Regions from separate parts of the Homo sapiens genome. Here all the other regions are linked to region 1. The links are contacts of gene promoters, found by promoter capture Hi-C in human tissues and cell types (Jung and others, 2019). All regions are on one chromosome and are shown on one strand. Each heading gives the region's core, a stretch centred on a gene start or on the middle of the fragment in contact. The rest is flanking DNA. Distances are from core to core; before and after follow the strand shown.

What was found. The method cuts DNA at HindIII sites, captures the fragments that hold promoters and counts their contacts. A contact is called where the count stands out against the background at its distance.
Region 2: a fragment that was not itself captured here is called in contact with the fragment with the promoter of JMJD1C in region 1 in 1 of the 25 tissues and cell types used here (aorta).
Region 3: a contact is called between a fragment that was not itself captured here and the fragment with the promoter of JMJD1C in region 1, in 2 of the 25 tissues and cell types used here (dorsolateral prefrontal cortex and spleen).

Annotation. Positions count from the first base shown.
Region 1 is chr10:63,464,596-63,468,692 of GRCh38, reverse strand. JMJD1C (jumonji domain containing 1C) reads left to right here and starts at 2,716. Exons shown (of 26, transcript NM_032776.3): 1 at 2,716-3,198. The coding sequence starts at 3,031. JMJD1C-AS1 (JMJD1C antisense RNA 1) reads right to left here and starts at 3,464. Exons shown (of 1, transcript NR_027182.1): 1 at 2,130-3,464. RefSeq lists enhancers at 2,254-2,303, 2,754-2,923, 3,004-3,073, 2,695-3,484 and silencers at 2,574-2,723, 3,264-3,603. The HindIII fragment of the contact is 6,698 bases long and covers 1-4,097 here.
Region 2 is chr10:63,654,000-63,658,419 of GRCh38, reverse strand. All of the region lies in intron 2 of LOC107984238 (a long non-coding RNA gene), which reads left to right. LOC101929846 (a long non-coding RNA gene) reads right to left here. Exons shown (of 3, transcript XR_946008.3): 3 at 3,725-3,916. Among named protein-coding and RNA genes, the nearest start is that of REEP3, 130 kb to the right of the region's middle. The HindIII fragment of the contact is 8,568 bases long and covers 1-4,420 here.
Region 3 is chr10:63,708,743-63,712,836 of GRCh38, reverse strand. No RefSeq gene overlaps it. Among named protein-coding and RNA genes, the nearest start is that of REEP3, 190 kb to the right of the region's middle. The HindIII fragment of the contact is 3,232 bases long and covers 1,222-4,094 here.

The DNA of each region.
Region 1 (4,097 bases), core at 1,467-3,966:
ATATTTACACGTGGGGATGGAAAGACTAGAAAATCTAATTTATATGTCTAATTTTCAGCTTCTATAAGTAAACTTAGTTATTTTAAGTAATTCACTGTCATTCTTTTTACCTGTATAATGAAAACAAATACCATTACTCTTCTGTTTCCGAGTATCTTTATGGAAGTAAAGAATGTAAGGAAACAAGTTAAGAAACAAATATTCTGAAGTTTCAAAACCAACTTGAAAAATTTTTTAAATTCCTTGTTATTTACAAAGTTATGATTTGCTGGCAAAAATAAAATAATAAAAATACCCCTTAATACAAAACGAAGCAAAAAATGCCAGCAAACAAACAAAAAATCTTTAAGGACTTTTTATTCTACATTTAAAAAAATGTACTTTTAAATTTTTCCAACAGCAAAATATCCACAAATTAGTGTAAACTCTAGGCATTGGCTGTAGTCAAGGGATTAGTAGAAGAGAATTTGGACCAGAGTTCTAAGAATATTAAGATACTTGATTAAAAATATTTTGGGGATATATGCCCTCCTGAAAAACTTTGTTTCTATACATGAAATATTTTGATTGATTTGTTGGATTACATGCTTTTCAGAGGACTGAAAAGGATGGAATTCAACATGTAGTGGGAGTTCCCAGGGGCCCATTTAGAGCAGTTTGCCTACAAAATTGAAAACAGCTGGCAGTTTTATATAAGGCAACTAGCAACCTATACTCTTAAGAATGTAATTTGGTGAGTGGGATTTATGTAATAACTGATGAATTTGCATGTTTTTCTCAAATGACTTTATTTGTATTTTTCGTTTGCTCCTAGGATATCACTGAAAATTAGGATTCAGGCATTTTTGCATTTTTACAATTGCATCATGCCCATGGTCACAAAGCAGATCATTGATGACTTGGTATCTGGATGTTGATCTCCCTACTCTTTTATCCTTACATATGTTGAATTATTGTCACCAAGTCACTTTACTGGTTCCTTAATCTACACTGATTTTAGAAATCTTCATCTGTAATTCTTAAGATAATTTGCTAAGTATTATACAGTGTACACTGAAAAAGTGGACTTGGAAATAAAATTGCCCAAGCAAAATTTTTTCTCTCAACTTGCCGATATGCATTTTTGGGTATGTTTTGCTGTTTTAATTTATTACAGGTTTTTTGTTTGTTTGTTTGTTTTCGGGGGGACTGAGTTTTGCTCTTGTTGACCAGGTTGGAGTGCAGTGGCACGATCCCGGCTCACTGCAACCTCCAGCTCCCAGGTTCAAGTGATTCTCCTGCTGCCTCCTGAGTAGCTGGGATTACAGGCATGCTCCACCATGCCCAGCTAATTTTTTGTATTTTTAGTAGAGACTAAAAATACATTTAGTTTCATCATGTTGGCCAGGCTGGTCTCGAACTCCCGACCTCAGGTGATCTGCCTCCTAAAGTGCAGGGATTACAGGCGTGAGGCACCGTGCCCAGCCTATTTATTACAGTTCTATGTTTGGTCTTTGGCAAAATTTGACCATGATTATTAAAATCCATCTTCCTTATAATTTTGGTTTCTAACCTATTAGCAGTGGTTGTGTTTCTCCACTTCAAATTGCCCAGCTTGAGTGTTCTAGAGAAAACAGATAAAAGCCTTATAGTTATTTTAAACATTCAGATTACTACTGTAAACTCTGTTAACTTTTTTTTTTTAAATAGAGGTTCAGGAAAATCTCAAGAAACTGAAATTTAGAATATTGGACTACCTATAAAAAAGCAGTATAAAGGGTGCCTGAAATCGAACTGCTCACTGACATTTGTAGGGAGGTTTGATTTATAACAAATAAGTTGATCAAAGAAGAGTGATTGTTCCAAGTTAGAGATCTTTGTGTGGGTTAGGGAGTCCGATTGTAATTGGATGGGAAATAAATATTTTTTTTCTTGAATTGTGATTGGCTAAAATCCTTTTCTTTCCATGGTATTTTCTAATAACTGAATCTGGGGATTTTCTCTGCTTTTATTATCTGACCAGTGTGTTTGAGCTGTGTACCAGTACTAAAAGTACTAAGACTGTCGCAGACACGGTTTGTGAAATTTCAGGACGTTGACAAGGGCCCGCCACGGAGCATTTGCTGTTCTTATAATAAAGCAGTGACGAATTTAAATCTGTGAATAGCTTAAACATGTAATTAGTATCACCACAAATGAGAAGAATGAAAGGATCACATTTTCCCCCTCGTTTTCCCTTGAAGTCATGAACGGTTGGTTCTGCTGTGACTTTGGGGCTTAGTTTTCAGTAGAAGTGTTGTCCTGCTCTGCTGCTGTTACTGCGGGACTGCTAATTCAGGCTAACTCAGGCGGCGGGCGCTGTGTGCTCTGAACATCAAACCGCGGGTGAGGCGTCAACCCAGGAGTTTATTTTGTGATCAGAGTGGAACCACTACACTTCACTTTCCCCTCACCTCCACCTCTGAGGGAGCAACGAATACAAAGGTAGACCCCCAAAAGCTTTGAATAGCTGTCGCCTACTTTCCCGCGGCCCTCTTCATTTTTTCGTCTCCCGCTGCCGCCGCCGCCGCCGCCTCTGGATCTGGACGGACCCAGTGGCCGCTGCCGCCTCCGCAGGGCCGGGCACTACTTTCCGTCTGCGGTGGTTCCGCCGACCCTCCCGCGGCTGCTGCCCCGCCCGCGCCGGCGGAAGGAGACGCGCTGCGCGCCGCCGCTGCCCGGGGAGGGAGACGGAGCAGTACTGGCCGCGGCGCGGTGGCGGCGGCTGGGCTGCCTCGGGGTCTTCGACGGCCGCGTTGGGTTTTGTTTCAGTTTTCTTGTGTGGCGCTGCAGCACAAGGCTGCGAATCTGGGAGTCCAAAGGAGTGTTTGCGGGGAGGGCCCGAGGTCGCTGTGTCCGGGGCAGAGCGGCCGGTTCGTCCCGAGTCTGCGCTCTTTCGGGTCCGCTGCTGTGTCCCGGTCCGCTCTCCTCAGCATGAGCGGCCGGTAGGAGTGAGGTTTCATCGGTTCCCTCGCACTGGAGGAGGCAGCGGCCGCTTCGGCAGCGACAGCTATGGCGGTAGAGACGCGGGCAGAGCTGGTGGGTAAGCGGTTCCTGTGTGTGGCGGTCGGCGACGAGGCACGTTCGGAGCGCTGGGAGAGCGGACGCGGCTGGCGAAGCTGGCGAGCGGGGGTCATCCGAGCCGTGTCACACAGGGACAGCCGCAATCCGGACCTGGCGGTAAGAGAGTCAGCGCCCCCCTTTTCCCCTGCCGCGCCCGCACCCGGCTCTCGCAGACGTACCTTGCAGGCTTCCCTCTGGCGCCTCGCTCAGCCCGGCCAACTGGCGGTCACGCCCCTCTGCTGAACCCTTGGCGCGTTTGCCCGCATCCCTTGCCTGGGTCCCTGCGTCTCTCCGAGCGGCTTCCCCTGTGGAGGTGGTGTCGGAGCAGGACTCCCGGGATAGCCGCGGAGGCTGCCCTGGCCCCCATCCCGGAGGGGTCGACCGCGGCTCCCCGCTGTGGCGCCTGGGCGGCCACGGAGACCTCCCCGAAAGGCGGAGCCGCGAGTCCGGCGCCGCGCGGGCAGGTGGGGGTAGGGGGCGGACCACTCATGGCGACAGGCGGCCAGCTTCCCTGGTATCTCTTTTCTTGGAAAAGTCTTCATAGTGCTGTAGCTCGAGACTTAAAACTTATCCTGTAAGGTTGCTGAAGGGGAGGGAGAAAAGAAAAGAGACCTTCCCACACAGTCCGGGGATTCCTATGTGTTTTAGAGGCAGAGGCCGTGGTGGTGGCTGTGCCCGGATTCATCCTCTCCTTAATAGATGCTTGGCTTTCTAACCGTAAAGGATAAAAGTGAAAAATTTTGGTATGGAGGGTAATCTCTCTTTCTGTCCCCAATGTGCTTTTCTTGTTAGAAAGGTATAGTTCTTTGGAGTCAAGCTGTTTCTGGGTTTTATACGATTTTAAATAAGACGAAAAATGTTGTCAATTAAAATGTTAAATGCCATGCAGAATTGATTATCTTTTTTTTTTTTTGGTTTCTTACATGTGACGCTGCCAGTGCTTTCTTTGAGTAGCGTAGGTATGTGCATGATATTGAGCTGTAATATGCTCTGTTGTGTTCCAAGTACATTCTCAC
Region 2 (4,420 bases), core at 838-3,337, 190 kb before region 1:
TCGGATTACATAAGTGCCCTCTTTCAGCAGGATCCTGACCTATGAGGAGTCTTTTCTTTTGCTGTCTCTCATGACAGCACTTTGAAATCCAGGAACCAGGTCTCAACACAGGCAAATAAAAATGAAATGATGGGAGCACAGAGCCAAAAAGATACACAGTATATCTACATAAGAGGAGGAATGGTTGGAGGACACCACCTCTTCTCTAAAGAGAGCATGTGTCTATTTACATTTAATTCTATTATCCACAGTAGGGTTACAAATAAGAGGCCAAAGGTGATAAACAAGCAGAAAGACCTTAAGCAACACTGGCTACACCTGGCTTTTTCTTTCCTTGCTGCTGCTCGAGTGCTGCAGCTCCCAGAGGGAGGGTTCTCCATGTGTTCTGGCAGGCAGTTCACACCAGATGGAGGGTTAGGGGAGCCTTTTCCCTGGTCCTCATTCCCTAGATGGTTCTCAGATTGACCTCTATCAGTGGCGCCATGGCCAATGACTGCACTCTGACCAGAGAGTGGGCCTTCTTGGGCAGCAGGATGGGCCCAAATAAGCCTTTCGAATATATCAGGTGCAATGAACTGCAGGCCCATTTGTGAATTATATAATAATGTTCTTTCCTCTCGTGCCTGAGATCAGATGGTTAAGTAAATAAATAAGTTACAACCATGTCTGTTTTCCAATGTTATGACTGTGGAATTTCAGATGATTCCTTTAATCAGCCATCCAAACAGCTGAGTCTCCTTTGTGTCCTGATCTAGAAGTGGATCTCATTCACCATGGCTTTCAAAGTCCTCTGGTGATAGGAGAGTTTCCATATCATTGAATATAAATTTAAGTTTTACTGCTGAATTTCCTGGAGATTAATTAATGAAAATCTCTGGGTCCCATTTCACTGTGGAGGTAACTTCTGACATTTAGGAACTGAAGAATTTGGGAGAAAAAACGTAAAGTTATGTCATTGTTTTACTTTTAAAATAAAGATTTCAAAATAAACCAACGTAGAATTCAAAAGGGAGCTTCAAAACTCAAACCCTCAACCCACACCTTTTTTGTTTGTTTGTTTTTTGAGACAGAGTCTTGCTCCATCACCCAGGCTGGAGTGCAGTAGTGCGATCTCAGCTCACTGCAACCCCCACCTCCCGGGTTCAAGCGATTCTCCTGTCTCAGCCTCCCGAGTAGTTGGGACTACAGGCACCTGCCACCATGCCCAGCTAATTTTTGTATTTTTAGTAGAGATGGGTTTCACCTTGTTAGTCTGGCTGGTCTTGAACTCCTGACCTCAGGTGATCCACCCACCTCAGCCTCCCAAAGTGCTGGGATTACCCCAACTTTTTTTCAGACTGCCAGATGCTCCTTATCTTCCTTTCACATTACAAATATCTAGTACTCAGGGAACCATTCTACTTCTATAATTATTAAGGACTCAGAGATTAATATAGCCATTAAACAAACTATAATGGCTGACTTGAAATTGTTATTGAACAAGAAGTATTTTGAACCTAACTTGTACTATTAGAATAAGGAAGTATTGTTTGGGATTAATAATTGATGGTACATTAGACTCCTGTATTACTGAGTTAGTTGACTTTTGAGAAGGCAGTTGAGCAGTTATCAGAGATCATAATGCAATAAACAATGATCTATTCTAGATGACCAGTTATTAGGCTGGAGCAAAAGTACTTGCAGTATATAACTATAATATAAACTTCAGCTACATATTAAAATAATGGGAGAGAGGGGCATTTTAAAAATATTGATGTCCAGTCCCCACTCCTGAGATTCTGATAAAATTGGTTTATTGCTCCAAGACCATTTTTTTGTTTGTCTGTTTTGAGACAGAGTCTTGCTCTGTCGCCCAGGCTGGAGTACAGTGGAACAATCTCAGCTCACTGCAGCCTCCGCCTCCTGGGTTCAAGCAATTCTCCCACCTCAGCCTCCCAAGTAGCTGGGATTACAGGCACACGCCACCAAGCCCATTTAATTTTTGTATTTTTAGTAGAGATGGGCTTTCACCATGTTAGCCAGGCTGGTCTCGAGCTCCTGGCCTCAAGTGATCCACCAGCCTCAGCCTCCCAAAGTGCTGGGATTACAGGCATAAGCCACTGTGCCTGGCCAAAGACCGTATTTTTTCAAAATTACCCCCACTCACCCCCACCATCCCCATCCAGGTGTTTCTAATGTGCAGTCGAATTAAAAATTCCCGTCTTAGTCTGTTTGGGTTACTATTATAAAGTACTGTAAATGGAGTGGTTTATAAACAATAGAAATTTATTTCTCATAGTCTAGAGGCTGGGAAGCCTTAGATGAAGGAGCTGGTAGATTCTGTGCCTGGGGAGGGCCTGCTTGGTTTATAGATGGCCATCTTTTGCTGAGTCCTCACATGGTGGAAGGAGCAAGGGAGCTCTGTGGGGTGTCTTATAAAGGCACAAATCCCATTCATGAGGGCCCTGCTCTCATGTCCCAATTTCCTCCCAAGGCCCCACCTCCTAATGCCATCACCTTGGGGGTTAAATTTTGGATGGACACAAAAATTCAGGCCATAGCACTGTTTATCTAGATTAGTTCTTTTTTATGATAATTTATTCTAAATCACTATTCTCTGGCTTTCATAATTTAGAAAATAAAAATTACAAAGCAATCACAAAATAGCACTGATACAGTGATTACAACAAATTTTAAAAATATATGTGTAGAGACAAGGTACAGATGAACCACTAGATAACTTTTTAATTTTTCTGTAAAGTTGTTTATAAGAGCCTTGGAATAAAATAATAAAATTTTTATATGGATACCTAATTGAGAATAGAAGTTAAGTAATTTCCAGGTTTCCCCTCATTCATGATAGGTTCTGGTTAGAACTCATGTTTCCAGATTCTTGTCTTAACATTCTTTTAAATATTACCTTGATTTTATTTTTTTTAAATGTAAAGGTAACTCTTCAAAAATAATTTAAAAAGCCACTGCCAATTATTATAAACTTTAATAAACATTAGAGGCAGTTTATAGTATATTTGTCAAGACCATGGACTCTGGAATTAGATAAATTACCATATAAGCCTGACTTAAACATTTACTACCCATGGGACCTTAACTTCTCTGAACCTCAACTTCTTCATCAGGAAAATAAGGATATTATAATATGTATTAGTCCATTCTCAAACTGCTATGAAGAAATACCAGAGACTAGGTTATTTATTTATTTATTTATTTATTTATTTATTTATTTTTGAGATGGAGTCTTGCTCTGTCGCCCAGACTGGAGTACAGTGGCGTGACCTTGGCCCACTGCAACCTCCACCTCCCTGGTTCAAGCAATTCCCCTGCCTCAGCCTCCCAAGTATCTGGCATTACAGGCACACGCCATCATGCCTGGCTAATTCTGTATTTTTAGTAGAGACGGGATTTCACCATGTTAGCCAGACTGGTCTCGAACTCCTGACCTCAGGCAATCCGCCCACCTCAGCCTCCCCAAGTGCTGGGATTACAGGCGTGAGCCACTGTGCCTGGCCTGAGACTGGGTAATTTATAAAGGAAAGAGGTTTCATTGACTCACAGTTCCGCATGGCTTGGGAGGCCTCCAGAAACTTACAATCAGGGCAGAAGGGGAAGCAAACACATCCTTCTTCACATGGTGGCAGGAGAGAGAAGTGCAGAGCAAAGCGGGGAAAAACCACTTATAAAACCATTCAGATCTCATGAGAACTCACTCACTATCATGAGAACAGCATGGGGGAACCACTTCCATAATTTATTTACCTCCCATGAGGTCTCACCCATGACATACGGGGATTATGGGAACTACAATTCAAGATGAGATTTGGGTGGGCGCACAGCCAAACCATATCATAATATAAGACCATCAGGTAGAAAAAGGGATGAAAGCAATTTCTCTTCTGCTCACATGGCATTGTTTCCAACCCTAAGAAGTAAAGAAAAGGAAGGTGAAGCCAGACTTCTCTGTTAAATGTGTTAATAAACAAACAATAAAATTATTTAACACGGCCCATTCACTACATTAGTTCTTCTATATACATTTCAATGGCTGGCGTGCTATGGTAGGAAAAGAGACTATACTGAATTATTTAGAGCAATGCCTAGCATAGACTATGCACTCAGCAATATCTTATTGGTTGTAATTATCATGCATTACTTAGTGTTTCTCAACGAAGAAGATGGGAATTTTTGTCTTTTGGGTTAAGAAAATTGTGTTTGCATCCTAAAGAATTTATATTACCTAAAATAGTCTTCCATAAAGTCCAAACCACTTCATAAGTATATAGTTAGTAATATTATCAATCAGTTAGGCAGTTGGCATATATGTTTGCAAAATTGCAAAGGAAGAAGACAACATCCTTATTCCTGTAAAACCTATAACTTAGTGAAGCAGGGGAAGGAAAACAAGCTCTGCCAGCCAAGTTCAGCT
Region 3 (4,094 bases), core at 1,588-4,087, 240 kb before region 1:
ATGACATCTACTTTAACCTGAGGCCTTATGCACAGATAGCAACACTGAAGTGCCCCCAGAAGACCCAAAGAGGGCAAGACCACTACAAAAGTTTTGAGGATGATGGAAGTTTCACCCCGGAGGACTGGTTTTTCCCACTGGTCCCTGGCCCTGCCTGGGGCAGCCCGTGTATCAGGCTGGAAGGAGGGCATGGGTGACAGTGCAAGGTTCTGCCTTCACCTTCTGGCTCAGCAGCCAAACTTCAGTGTGAAGCCAGAACAAAGCTATTGCCAGGTCAGGGCTAAGGAGCTCGAGCCTGTCTTGGGGTGGAGCCAGGACCCAGAAACCACTGCCATGAGCCACCAGCTGGCTCTGATCCCAGGAACATGTGCAGCTGCTGCACAGGCCAGACTAGTCCTGAAGACTGTCACTGTGCCAGCCCCTCCATTAGGCCTCCCGGTCTCTGCTCTCATCAGGCTCACACCCAATGCCCCGTGTGTACTTTGGCATCTGCCTGCCTTTAGATGTCCTGGGATGACTGAATAAACCTTCAGAAAAGCCATGTGACCTGCTGATTCTTATCTTTCTGGACATCACACCTTTGTTCTAAAACTCCTTAGAGGTCAAAGTGTATAGATCCAAATCTCTGAAGTTCCTTGGTATGATGAAAATGAAGGAATAAACAATTTCCCTTAACTCTGTGTGGTCTAATTTAAGGGCCTTTCATTAGTACTCACAGGAAAAACACAGGCACCATGGCAGCGGAAACAGAAATCCCTCCCCACATGCCCTGATGGTGGGGGCAAAACCCATGAATGGCCACATTCACAGCTGTTTCTAGAAGTGCTTCCTGGTATCGTGGGCATTAAGCTTCAGTAATAAAGTTAACAGCAATACAGTCATACTGGAAAAAGGTCAAAAGGAGGAAAACCTTTATTTAAAATATTATGCTGTTCTTTTTACAAACTAGGTCATCTTCTGTATCAGTAGCTATTCCTCAAGGCATTCGGTCCCACTGACCCTTTAAGAACTTATTTTAAAAAATCGGGCTGCTTCTTACCCCAATTTTGTTTCTTCCCAAATGTGTTAGGCACTCTCCAACCTGGATACAAATTCCAGCATTTTGACAAGGTGTACCTAGTCCTCTTCAGATTCTCTTATCACCAGGGAAAGGCCTGTACAACTGCTCAGTAAGCCTTGGCCGTAAGGTATGCTCCCTAATACAGAATAAAGGGCAGGATGCCACAGTGCGGCCAGCAGGCTCAGTCCCATGGAGAGCAGCCCAGTACGGCTTAAGCTGTAAAGACAAGTAAGACAAGGTCTCTGTGCTCAGGAAACTGGTAATCTAGGGGAGGCCGTGGATGTGTTGCTTAACAAGGTGATAAGTGCATGCTAGCAGTGTGAACCAAGTGCCATGGGAACTCTGAGGAAGCAATGATTAATTATGCAGGGTATGGGGATTAAAGATCTGGGAATGTTTTCCAGAGAGAGAAACAGTGGAGCTGAAACAGATGATGAGCAGGCTTTGATCATGACAAAATTTGGGGGACAGAGTGCTCAGCAAGATACATTCCAGGAAGACGCATGGTGCAAAAGTCTTCCAGACACTGAAAGCTTTTGTTACATGAAATGCTTGGAGCACAGCAGGTCATCCAGGACAGTTGGAGTTTACAGTATAAGGTGGAGGGTGACACGGAAAGACCAAATAGTTGGGTTGGGCCAGATGGTGACTCTCGGACAACCAACTCCTTGGACTTTACCCTGAAGGCAGTGGTGAAGCAGATGAAGGATTTTAAGCAACTGGCTGGGTCAAGGGTTTAGTTTGGTGTATGACAAGCAAAGTTGTCTAAAAGGGACTCTGGGAGGTCACTTGGGGTGGCTTGGACAAGCCAAGTGGAACAGGGGCTTCCCCCCTTCTCCCAGTGGGGTGGGCTGCCCTAAATTTAGCTTCCCACAGAACTGGCAGTTTCTTTCCCACCCTACTCATATGAGCTACCACTCTCCACAGTCCTCAAATCTCCAGAACTGGAAAGCTGGCTTTCCCAGACAACTTCTCAGAACATCTAACACATAACTCAGACTGCCTGGTGCCCCAGTACCTATTTCCATCCCCACTGATAAGTTGTTCTGATCCTCTCTCCACATGGAAAGCAATAAGGAGGTAGAGTCCTTCCCCTAAAACATAACTTGCCATATTCTAAAAGATTCATTTTCTTGGATTCATGAAAGGCTGGGAGATTGTAGATGACTCTTTTGCCTGCTGACACTTGCTTTGTATGTTTCTACAATAAAGCCTGTTTCTAAATTCATACCAAGGGGTATTTTGGAACGCCTTCTGATCCTGGTGTTTTCTGACCAGGGTGACTATGAAGGAACCCACATTGTACCAAAGTGGGATGGCCTAGGAATGGAATAAGTCATTTCCCCATTGTTGATTAAGACTCTTTGTGTTGTAACAGAAAATCCAACTAAAACTGGCTTTAAAATTGAAGGGAATTTATTGTTTCACATAATTGTTAGGGTGGGCATAGAGTAGTTAATCCAGTGTTTTAATGATGCTATCAATGGCCCATTTCTCTCTCTCTGTCCTACCTTCACTAGTGTCAGCATTTTTCTTTTTCTTTTTTTTTTTTTTTTTTTTGAGATGGAGTTTCGCTCTTGTTGCCCAGGCTGGAGTGCAATGGCACTATCTCAGCTCACTGCAACCTCCACCTCCTGGATTCAAGTGATTCTCCTGCCTCAGCCTCCCAAGTAGATGGGATTACAGGTGCCCGCCACCACACCCGGCTAATTTTTCTTGTATTTTTAGTAGAGATGGGGTTTCGCCATGTCAGCCAGGCTGTCTCGAACTCCTTACCGCAGGTGATCCGCCTGCTGCAGCCTCCCAATGTGCTGGGATTACAGGCGTGAGCCACGGCGCCCAGCCATGTCAGCTTTTTCCTTTTTTTTTTTTTTTTGAGATGGAGTCTTACTCTGTTGCCCAGGCTATAGTGCAGTGGCATGATCTCGGCTCGCTGCAACCTCCACCTCCTGGGTTCAAGTAATTCTCTGCCTCAGCCTCCCTAGTAGCTGGGATTACAGGCACCCTCCACCACACCTGGCTAATTTTTGTATTTTTAGTAGAGACGGGGTTTCACCATCTTGCCCAGGCTGGTCTTGGACTCCTGACCTCGTGATCCACCGGCCTTGGCCTCCCAAAGTGCTGGGATTACAGGCGTTAAGCCACTGCGCCCAGCCGTGTCAGCCTTTTTTTAAGGCTGACTCTCCCAATGGTTGTAGAAATGCTGACAGTCACAATCAAGTCTCTAATAGTTACATCTGATGGCAAAGAGGGCTTCTAGACCAGCATTCCAGCCAGTGTCCTGAGATTCACCTAAATCGAGTAAGTTTAATTGACATATTTGTTGTTGTTGTTGTTGTTGTTTTGAGACAGGTTCTTACTCTGTCACCCAGGCTGGAGTGCAGTAGTACGATCTCAGCTCACAGTAACCTCCACCTCCCAGACTCAAGCAATCCTCCCACCTCGGCCTCCCAAGTAGCTGGGACCACAGTCACCCGCCACAATGCCTGGCTAATCTTTGTATTTTTTGTAGAGACAAGGTTTCACCATGTTGCCCAGGTTGGTCTCGAACTCCTGAGGTCAAGTGATCTGCCCACCTCGACCTCCCAAAGTTGTGTGATTACAGGTGTAAGCCACCACGCCTGGCCCTTAATTCACACATTTATGCTCACATCAACTCATATATTCATTGAACAAATATTTATGGAATACCTACTACATATTAGCCACTGTTTCAGGTTCTGGGACATTGAAATCACCTTGAATGACTGATTAGCTTAAAGCAATTGGTACCCATCACGAGCGCTAGGAGTGTGTTTAATTTCCCCCAAAGCACATGGACTGTATAGGGATGGAAGTGGATCCTTAGATAAAGACTTCTCTGCTACCAGGAAAGGGGGAGGAGAGAATAGATACTAGTTTGGCATCAAGAACACCTAATACAGGCTTGCTCCTGAAAACGCAGTTCCAGAACCAGCATTGTTGGCATCACCTGGTAATTTACTATAAATACAGAATCTCAGGTAGTGCCCCAAGTCTACTGGATGAGAATCTG